Linked DNA regions of Homo sapiens: region 1 is linked to region 2. Evidence: promoter capture Hi-C in human tissues and cell types (Jung and others, 2019). All regions are on one chromosome and are shown on one strand. Each heading gives the region's core, a stretch centred on a gene start or on the middle of the fragment in contact. The rest is flanking DNA. Distances are from core to core; before and after follow the strand shown.

What was found. The method cuts DNA at HindIII sites, captures the fragments that hold promoters and counts their contacts. A contact is called where the count stands out against the background at its distance.
Region 1: a contact is called between a fragment that was not itself captured here and the fragment with the promoter of PPP2R5D in region 2, in 1 of the 25 tissues and cell types used here (IMR-90 fibroblasts).

What each region holds. Positions count from the first base shown.
Region 1 is chr6:42,748,916-42,754,374 of GRCh38, forward strand. It overlaps a transcript of BICRAL not described here and the pseudogene LOC124901226. Among named protein-coding and RNA genes, the nearest start is that of TBCC, 5.5 kb to the left of the region's middle. The HindIII fragment of the contact is 4,090 bases long and covers 1,935-5,459 here.
Region 2 is chr6:42,982,605-42,987,418 of GRCh38, forward strand. PPP2R5D (protein phosphatase 2 regulatory subunit B'delta) reads left to right here and starts at 1,966. Exons shown (of 16, transcript NM_006245.4): 1 at 1,966-2,100. The coding sequence starts at 2,074. It overlaps LOC124900215 (a long non-coding RNA gene), which reads right to left and starts at 1,710. Exons shown (of 2, transcript XR_007059580.1): 1 at 1,228-1,710. RefSeq lists an enhancer at 1,745-1,864 and silencers at 2,015-2,084, 2,175-2,324. The HindIII fragment of the contact is 19,136 bases long and covers 408-4,814 here.

The DNA.
Region 1 (5,459 bases), core at 2,730-5,229, 230 kb before region 2:
GTCAGAGGTAAGTGCCTGTTTTGATGGAAGGAGAGTGGGGAATGCATTACGGGGGAAATGTAGCAAAAGGCAAGCAGCTCTGAGTTCTGCATCCTACTTTCAATGATATCTCAAAGGGCTTGTGAATCAAGGTACTGCTCTCTTGTAGACATCTTGAAAAATGAAAGAATTCTAACGTATTATGGACTTTACCGTTTATTTAACAACAGTTTAGATACTTTATGGTTCTATTTGTTAGATCCCCCTTTTAACTTTTTGAAAATTTCCAACATATATAACATGGAGAGGGTATTAGAATAGTGTTCCAAGGACTCACATACCCATCACCCAGCTTCAACAACTGCCAACTGATGTTAAGTAAATAAGCCAGGAACAGAAAGAAAAATATCACATGTTCTCACTCGTATGTGGGAACTGAAAAAGTTGATCATATGGAGTTGGAGTGTAGAATGATAGTTACCAGAGGCTGGGAAGTGGAGGGAGATGAAGTGAGATTGGTTAAAGGGCACAAAGGCACAAGTTAGATAGAGGGAATAAGTTCTAGTGTCAGATAGCACAGTAGCCTAATTCGAGTTAACAATAATGTATTGTACATTTCAAAATAGCTAGAAGAAAGGATTTGAAATGTTCCCAACACAAAGAAGTGATAAATGTTTGAAGTAATAGATATCCCAATTATTCTAATTTGACCACTACATATTATATGCATGTATCAAAATATCACATGTACCTCATAAATATGTACAATTATTATATATCAATAAAAATAATAATAACTTTTTAAAAAACAGTTACCAACTGAGAATCTTGTTTCCTGTAAAGCCCTAGTCACTTCCCCACCTCTCACCCTGATTATTTTTTGGCCCATCCCTTATATTATATTATTTCATATTTTATTGTCTATAAATATTTCACTATATACCTCTAAAAGATTGGGAGTTCCTTTTTTTTTTTTTTGAGATAGAGTCTCGCTCTGTTGCCCAGGCCAGAGTGCAGTGGCACGATCTCAGCTCTGTGCAACCTCTGCCTCCCAGGTTCAAGTGATTCTCCTGCCTCAGGCTCCCAAGTAGCTAGGATTACAGGTGCCCACCACCACGCCCGGCTAATTTTTTTTAATATATATAGTTTTAGTAGAGGCGGGGTTTCACTATGTTGACCAGGCTGGTCTCGAACTCCTGACCTCATGTTCTGCCCACCTCTGCCTCCCAAGGTTCTGGGATTACAGGTGTGAGCCACCGTGCCTGGGCCCTTTTTTTTTAAATTGAGACAGGGTCTCACTCTGTCACCTAGGCTAAAGTGCAGTGGTGCAATCACAGCTTACTGTAGTCTTGACCTCCCAGGCTGAAGTGATCCTTCCACCTTAGCCTCCTGAGTAGCTGGCACTACAGGTGTGCACCACCACTCCCAGCTAAATTTGGTATTTTTTTTTGCAAAGACAGGGTTTTGCTGTGTTGTCCAGGCTGGTCTTAAACTCTTGGGCTCAAGTGATCTGCCCACCTCGGCCCCTGGAAGTGCTGGGACTACAGGTGTGAGCCCCCACGCCTGGCCACTTCCCTTTTAAGACAGCCACATTGCCGTCACCACACTCCAAAAAAGCATAGAAAATATTTTCTCAATAGCAGATTGCCAGTCTATATTCACATCTGATTATCCCATAATATACGTTTGCTTTTTTCTCAAGACGACGTCTTGCTCTGTCGCCCAGGCTGGAGTGCAATGGCGCGATCTCGGCTTACTGCAACCTCCACCTCCTGGGTTCAAGTGATTCTCATGCCTCAGCCTCCTGAGTAGCTGGGATTACAGGTGCCCACCACCATGCCTGGCTAATTTTTTGTATTTTTAGTACAGATGGGGTTTCACCATGTTGGGCCAGGCTGGTCTTGAACTCCTGACCTGAGATGATCCGCCTGCCTCAGCCTCCCAAAGTGCTGGGATTACAGGCGTGAGCCACCGCGCCCGGCCTTTTTTTTTTTTTTTTTTTTTTTTTTTTTTTAATACTTTAAGTTCTGGGATGCATGTGCAGAATGTGCAGTTTTGTTACATCGGTATACATGTGCCATGGTGGTTTGCTGCACCTATCAACCTGTTATCTAGGTTTTAAGCCCCGTATGCATTAGGTATTTGTCCTAATGCTCCCCCTCCCCTTGCCCAGTTTCCTTTTTTTAAAGTTATTTTATTTGAATAAGGATCCAAACAAGTTCCATACACTGCATTTAGTTATTGTGTCCCTTAAATCACTTTTTTTTTTTTTTAGTTAGACAAACAGCTTTATTTGAAAGATGTGGTCAGCCAAGTCCCCCTCCAACCCCAAGGTCCTGGCAGCATTGGCCTCAGGCGTGGGAGGACCCGTGTCCTGGGTGGAGAGCCTTAAATCACTTTCACTGTGTGGGTTCCTTTTTCTCTAAATTGTTTTGTTGAAGCAGCTTGGTCATTTGTTCAGTAGAGTTTCCCACAGTCTGCATTTTGCTGGTTGCATCTCTATACAGTATTTGTTAAATTTTAAACGTCTGTTGTATTTATTTGATCTTTTAATGTTACAAAGGGAATCTCATGATTGTAGTTACATGCCTCAAGAAGTAAGTAGTGAAAGCATTTAAGCAAAGGAAAACAGTCTTTAGGTATGGTAAACAATAAAGGAATAGGCCCTTCGGTGTTCTCTGGAGTTTGTCAGGGACCCTGCACTGGTGGAAGATACCAGCCACACCCAGGCAAATAAAAGGACCCTTTTTCTTTCTTTTCTTTTTTTTTTTTTTTTTTTTGAGACGGAGTTTTGCCCTTGTTGCCCAGGCTGGAGTGCAGTGGCATGATCTTGGCTCACCGCAACCCCCGCCTCCTGGGTTCAAGCGATTTTCCTGCCTCAGCCTCCCAAGAGGCTGGGATTATAGGCATGCGCCACCATGCCGGGCTAATTTTGTATTTTTAGTAGAGACGGGGTTTCTCCATGTTGGTCAGGCTGGTCTTGAACTCCTGACCTCAGATGATCCGCCCGCCTCAGCTTCCCAAAGTGCTGGGATTACAGGCATGAGTCACCGCGCCCGGCCAAGCCCCTTTTTCTAGTAGTTTGATGCCAGAAAGAAGCATCACCTATTCATCTTTCAGCAAGTCTTGACTATATATGGGATGTAAAGCATTCATTAAAGAGCTGTGCACATCAAAATTATCAAATGTTAGGCAAATCTTCCTACCTTGGCTACTTTCTGGCAGGAAGACAGTGAAAGGTGACAGTTGTGCAGGCAGGTCCTGTTGTTGGGAAGCAGGACAGGAGCAGCCTTTTCCTTCTGCCTTTGCCCCTGGCGCTCTCCTCTGCCTCAACGCCCTTGACCTTCTGAAACTTTTTTCATCATTGTACACTTAACGTCTAGCACATAGGCTGGCACGTGTTTATTTATCTAAACATCTGTTTATTAAGCACTAACTGTGCCCAGCACTGAGCCAGGGAGGCCCTAAGACTGCCAAGGTGGATAAAAACAGACATCGTCCCTGTCCTCCTTAAGAAGGCCTAATTTGGGCAAATAGTCACAAAAACATGTAAAATGTGTTCTTTGCTTGCTGAGACTGGGTCTCTCTCTCACCCAAGCTGGAGTGCAGTGGCATAATTATAGCTCACTGCAGCCTCAAACTCCTGGGCTCAAGCAATTCTCCCATTTCAGCCTCCTGAGTAGCTGGGACTACAGATGCATGCCACCGTGCCCAGCTAATTTTTTTTTTTAGATTGAGTCTCACTGTTTCCCAGGCTGGAGTGCAGTGGCGCCATGTTGACTCACTGCAGCCTCCACCTCCCAGGTTCAAGCAATTATCCTGCCCCAGCCTCCTTAGTAGCTGGGATTACAGGCACACACCACCATGTGTGGCTAATTTTTGTATTTTTAGTAGAAACAGAGTTTTGCCATGTTGGCCAGCTAGTCTCCAACTCCTGACCTTAGGTGATCCACCTGCCTCTGCTTCCCAAAGGGCTGGGATTACAGGTGTGAGCCACAGTGCCCTGCCCCCAGCTGACTTTTTTTTTTTTTTTTTTTTTTTGGTTGGGGGGGTACGGAGTTTTGCTCTGTCACCCAGGCTAGAGTGCAGTGGTGCAATCTCGGCTCACTGCAACCTCCGCCTCCCAAGTTCAAGTGATTCTGCTGCCTCAGCCTGCCGAGTAGCTGGGACGACAGGCACTTGCCACCATGCCTGGCTAATTTTTTGTATTTTTAGTAGAGACTGGTTTCACCATGTTGGCCAGGCTGGTCTCGAACTCCTGACCTCAGGTGATCCATCCACCTCACCCTCCCAAGGTGCTAGGATTACAGGCATGAGCCACCATGCCTGGCCTGATTTTTAAATGTTTTTGTAGAGACAGGGTCTTGCTGTGTTGCCCAGTCTGGTCTTGAACTCTTGGCTTCAAGGGATCCTCCTGCCTCGGCCTTCCAAAGTGCTGGGATTACAGGCATGAGCTACTACACTTGGCCAATCATTGCTATAAAAGAAAGAGTTACAAGGAGCCCACTAGTGGTGGGGGTTGCCTTGTTGGGATGGTCATGGAAAGCTTCAGAGGGGGTTGAGCTGAACGGGAAAGCATGAGTAGGAATTAACAAGAGAGAAGACATAAAGCACGTAAGGGTCCTGGAAAAGCTGGAGGAAATGGTACTTAAAACACAGGTGCAAGGAGTAGTTATAGATAGGAGGAGGGACATCCTCTCTATTGCACTGTTGTTTGAACTTGTTTGTTTTTTTTCAGACAGGGTCTCACTCTGTCACCAAGGCTGGAGTGCGGTGGCACGACCTTGGCTCAGTGCAACCCCCGCCTCCTGGGTTCAAGTGATTCTCCTTCCTCAGCCTCCTGAGTAGCTGGGATTACAGGTGTGCGCCACCACACCCAGCTAATTTTTGTATTTTTAGTAGAGATGGGGTTTCACCATGTTGGCCAGGCTGGTCTTGAACTCCTGACCTTAGGTGATCTGCCCGCCTCAGCTTCCCAAAGTGCTGGGATTACAGGCACGAGCCCCTACACTTCATGAGAAGGCATGAGCACTTCCCAAAGTGCTGGGATTACAGGCATGAGCCACTACACTTCATGGGAAGGCATGAGCACTTCCCAAAGTGCTGGGATTACAGGCATGAGCCACTACACTTCATGGGAAGGCATGAGCACTTCCCAAAGTGCTGGGATTACAGGCATGAGCCACTACACTTCATGGGAAGGCATGAGCACTTCCCAAAGTGCTGGGATTACAGGCCGTGTTTGAAGTTTTTAATGAGAATTTGCTAACATACAGAAACTTTTTTTTTTTTTTTGAGACGGAGTCTTGCTCTGTTGCCCAGGCTGGAGTGTAGTGGCACAATCTGGGCTCACTGCAAGCTCCACCTCCCGAGTTCATGCCATTCTCCTGTCTCAGCCTCCCGAGTAGCTGGGACTACAGGCGCCCGCCACCACGCCTGGCTAATTTTTTTGTATTTTTAGTAGAGACGGGGTTTCACTG
Region 2 (4,814 bases), core at 716-3,215:
ATACTGTACCCAATGTGTAGTATTTTTTTTTTTTTTTGAGACGGAGTCTTGCTCTGTCGCCCAGGCTGGAGTGCAGTGGCATGATCTAGGCTCACTGCAACCTCTGCCTCCCGGGTTCACGCCATTCTCCTGCCTCAGCCTCCCGGGTAGCTGGGACTACAGGCGCCTGCCACCACGCCCGGCTATTTTTTTGTATTATTTTAGTAGAGACGGGGTTTCATCGTGTTATCCAGGATGGTCTCGATCTCCTGACCTCGTGATCCGCCCGCCTCGGCCTCCTAAAGTGCTGGGATTACGGGCGTGAGCCACCGCGCCCGGCCTCCATTGTATCATTCTCATGCCTTTGCATCACAGGTTTCTTCTTTTTTTTTTGTAGACGGAGTCTTGCTCTGTCGCCCAGGCTGGAGCGCAGTGGCATGATCTCGGCTCACTGCAACCTCCACCTACCGGGGTCAAGTAATTCTCCTGCCTCAGCCTCCTACCGGGTTCAAGTGATTCTCCTGCTTCAGTCTCCCGAGTAGCTGGGACTACAGGCGCGCGCCACCACGCCCCGCTAATTTTTGTATTTTTCATAGAGGCATGGTTTCACCATGTTGGCCGGGATGGCCTCGATCTCTTGACTCGTGATCCGCCCACCTCGGCCTCCCAAAGTGCTGGGATTACAGGCGTGAGCCACCGCACCCTGTCTAATTTTTGTATTTTTAGTAGAAATGGGGTTTCACCACTATGGTCAGGCTGGTCTCAAACTCCTGACCTCGTGATCTGCCCACTTTGGTCTCCCAAAGTGTTGGGACTACAGGCGTGAGCCACCGAGCCTGGCCACAGGTTTATTCTTTTTGTCGTCATTGTTGCTGTTTTGAGACAGAGTCTTGCTCTGTCGCCCAGGCTGGAGTGCAGTGGTGTGATCTCGGCTCACTGCAACCTCCGTCTCCCGGGTTCAAGTGATTCTCCTGCCTCAGCCTCCCGAGTAGCTGGGATTACAGGCGTGCACCACCACACCCAGCTAATTTTTGTATTTTTAATAGAGACGGGGTTTCGCCATGTTGGCCAGGCTGGTCTCGAACCTCTGACCTCAGGTGATCCTCCTGCCTCAGCCTCCCAAAGTGTTGGGATTACAGGCGTGAGACACCGTGCCTGCCTGGTTTACATTCTCTCTTAATCCTTTGTTTATACACATCTGTGATTCACCAGACTGCGAACTCTTTGTGGGCATAAACTGAGTCTTACCCATTAGAACACGGACTTGAGCAGGGTGGCAAGTAAGGGATGGATTTCCTGAGACAGTCAACAATGAAGTTGCTTTTCCACTGCGTTCCCAACTGCTCAAATCTAGCTGGTTCCCCAATCCCAGTACACTTGCAGTAGCAACGGGGACCCTCTTCCTAAAGTTGCACCAAGCCAGGGATTCTCCACTCATTTCGCCCAGGTCCTAGCCCTGCCAGGCTTCCCCTTTGCTCCTCTGCAACCCCTGTCTAGGGAGGCGGGTGTCTTGGAAGGTCCTTGGGAGCTCCCTCCATCAATTTTGCATCTGCAATTAGGGCTACTTTACCCCAGTGAAGAAAGGTGCCCTCCGTATTAGGGCTTCCTTCCTCCAATTCCGACTGGACAGGGTAGCAGAGCGGGCAAAGTGTGAGAGCCTTTAGAAGGAAAGAGCAGGGCTCCAAGCGCCGCGAAGAATGGCCGAGGCCGACGCACAGCAGACGCTGGAGTGCAGCCCTCCTAGCCAAGCTTGGGTTTCCCCTTATCCCCGCCTCCTTCTCTAAGCTCGACCCACTTTAGGGCGGGACCACCCACTTCAGCCAATTCTGGAAGCCGAACCCTGGCGGTTTGTACTATTTCTTTCCAATAAGAAAAAAAGGAAGCAGCTTGGCTCCAATGACCAATCCGAGGAGGCGGCGCCTGGTTGTCAGGCAGTTTTGTAGGAGTTCGGGCCAATTGGAGGCGCAGGCACCGCTCGACCCGGGCGCAGCGCGCAGGCGGTGGCGAAGAGACGCCGAGCGGGCCGAGTGCGGCCGAGCAAAGCCGGAGCCGGAGCGGGGCCGCAGGAGACGGGCCGGGTCCGGACGGGCCGAGATGCCCTATAAACTGAAAAAGGAGAAGGTGAGCGTGGCCCTTTTTCCCCCACCGCCGCCTTGGAGCCTGCGCGGAGCTCTGGGAGGGGCCGGAGCCAGGCCCGGGACAGCCCCAGACTGACCCTCCCGTCCAGCCCCCGCAGGACTCCTGGGGCCAGCCCTCCGCCCCCGCGGCTGGCAGCACCCCCAGCTTGTGCCGCAGCTAGGACAGCTCCCCCACCTTGCCCCGGAGAGACTCCCCCCACATACACCTCCCTCCCTTCTTCCCTTCTCTTACCCCCGGCCCAGGGTAACCTCCTTCTTCCAGATCTGCCCCATTCCCAGGTCACTGTCCTGCTTTTTCTGTCCCCCCCATCACCCCTGGCCCCGATCCCCCTTCGGTTTGGGCAGCCCCTCATCTGAAACTGCACCTTCCTCCAGAATTGCCCCCTCGCCCCGCCCTGAGCAGCCCCTTGTCTCCTCTTCCTACCCGCCTGGGACAGCCGCCCCGCAGTCCCCTACGGCCCCTTCTCTTTCCATGCCAAGCCCCTGACCTAGAACAGCGCTGCTTTCTCTCTCCTCCACCCAAATCTGGCCTAGGCCCCTCCCTCTAGTTCTTCCTTCACACACAAACTTGTAAGCAGGACTGAGCCCTTCTGTTGATGGAACCTCACAACGTTGGTGCTGGAAGGGACCTCTGAGCGCATGCAGTGCAATCCCTAATGGTACAGATGAGGAGACTGAGGCCCCGACAGGGCAAGGGACTTGTCCAAGGTCACACAGCCTGCTGGAGGCCCAGCTGCAATATCAGGTCTCCTGACTTAAAGGCCTCTTTTGTATCAAAGCCCTCCTAACTGTCACCCAAGTGCATCCTAGACCAGTCACCTTTCCTAATCTGAGTAGGCTCCTCACCCTTATTCTTAATCCTAGGATAACCTTTGCATTTTTCCTTTTTTTTTTTCTTTTCGCACCAGTGCTGGATTTCTGCCTTTCCTAAGCTACACCATCTTCAAATTGGGAATTTGTCCTCACTGTCAGATTATTGTTCCTTCTTAGCCTGCAGGCCAGCCACCCCTGAACACCCATGTCTTTATCATGATGTCCTGACACAGGCCATTTCTTTTTTTTTTTTTTTTTTTGAGATGGAATTTTGCTCTTGTTGCCCAGGCTGGAGTGCAATGGCGCGATCTCGGCTCACCACAACCTCTGCCTTCTAGCTTCAAGCGATTCTCCTGCCTCAGCCTCCCAAGTAGCTGGAATTACAGGCATGCGCCACCACATCCGGCTAATTTTGTATTTTTAGTAGAGACGGGGTTTCTCCATGTTGATCAGGCTGGTCTTGAACTCCTGACCTCAGGTGATCTGACCCCCTCGGCCTCCCAAAGTGCTGGGATTACAGGTGTGAGCCACCGTGCCTGGCCCACAGGCCAGTTCTTAATGTTGCCTTCTTTCACCTTCCTCATCTACCTCGGTGCTGCCTTCCCCTGCTCCTCATCCGTGCCTTTTTCTACCCTCTGTTTCCTGCTGTTGCTGAGGTCTGACTCAGAGGTGTGGTTCCTTTGAGGTACAGACTCACACATAGGATGCTAGGATACCAGTTCCAGCCTCCCCCAGCTTCTCCTCTCCTGGGGCTGGCCCTTTTTGGTGGGGGTTGGCTCTGGCCTGGTGTTCTGGCCACCTGCTCGATGACCCCAGAGGTATATTGCTTTCATTTGCCCTCTGATTGGCTGGGTTACTGGGCTGCCATCTCTGACCTTTTCAATCAAACTTTTTCTCCTGGGGCTGTTCTGTATTTGCCAGGCAGCTCTGATTCTGAGTTGTCCCCTTAACCTTTCAGGGCCTGAGGTTCTAAGTACAGGGTTGGTGATGGTGTACTAGATAGTGAGCCTCCTGGGAGTAGTGAGCTGGACAGGGTTTTGTGCCCCACCCAGGCCCTGTCCTTGGGGAGTGGGCATGCGGAGGTGGTTTGGGTAGCTCAGTCGTAGACAATGCACACAGAAATCAGCCACAACAGGGGCTAAGGGAAATGGAATTCGGGGAAAGCTGGTGAGGTCCCCACCCATTTGTAATTTTTAGTCTGTTGGACTAGATACTGTCCCATCCACAGAAAGCAATAGCCTACTAGATTGTGAAGAAGACAAATTGCCAGTGAGATTTGCTAGGACCATGGGTGTAAACGTTTGGTTGGGAAAGGGTGTTGGAAGTAACGGGGTGCATGGAGCCAGGCATAACTCTCACCTCCCTATAAGGTTTTTCTGCTCTTGATTTTCAGTTGCATTTGGCCTTCTTCAATGGTTGGCAGGCTCTAAGGGGCAGGGGGGTTGCCAGTGTGACTGAGGTTTGTCTGGATGGCTGTGGGTGGAGGATCTTTATTGCTCATCTATGACCTGTCCCCTCTCTCCTGGCCATCTTTCACAGCTTCCTCTCTAAAGCCTTTCTGAGCCCTCAGTCAGGAGTGAACTCTCCTTTCTTTTCTGGATTTGCAGAACACTTAGTAGGCCACTTATGGTCCTTTTGTGTTTGGCCTTGGATGGGAATTAATTGTGGACAAGACTTTTCTTCCCCTTTGAGATAATAACTAAGTTTCATTTTGGTTTGACAACTCCTTTTCACACGGTAAGTACGTGCTTAGTGGATAGGTGCTAAGATAATCTCTTGGAGGGATTCGCATCTCTCCTCTTCCTTCATGTTCTCCTCTGGGACTTACCTCTTTTATTTTCCTGAGTAGGGTGCCCCTGCCCCCTCCGATTTTTTTCTTGTTCA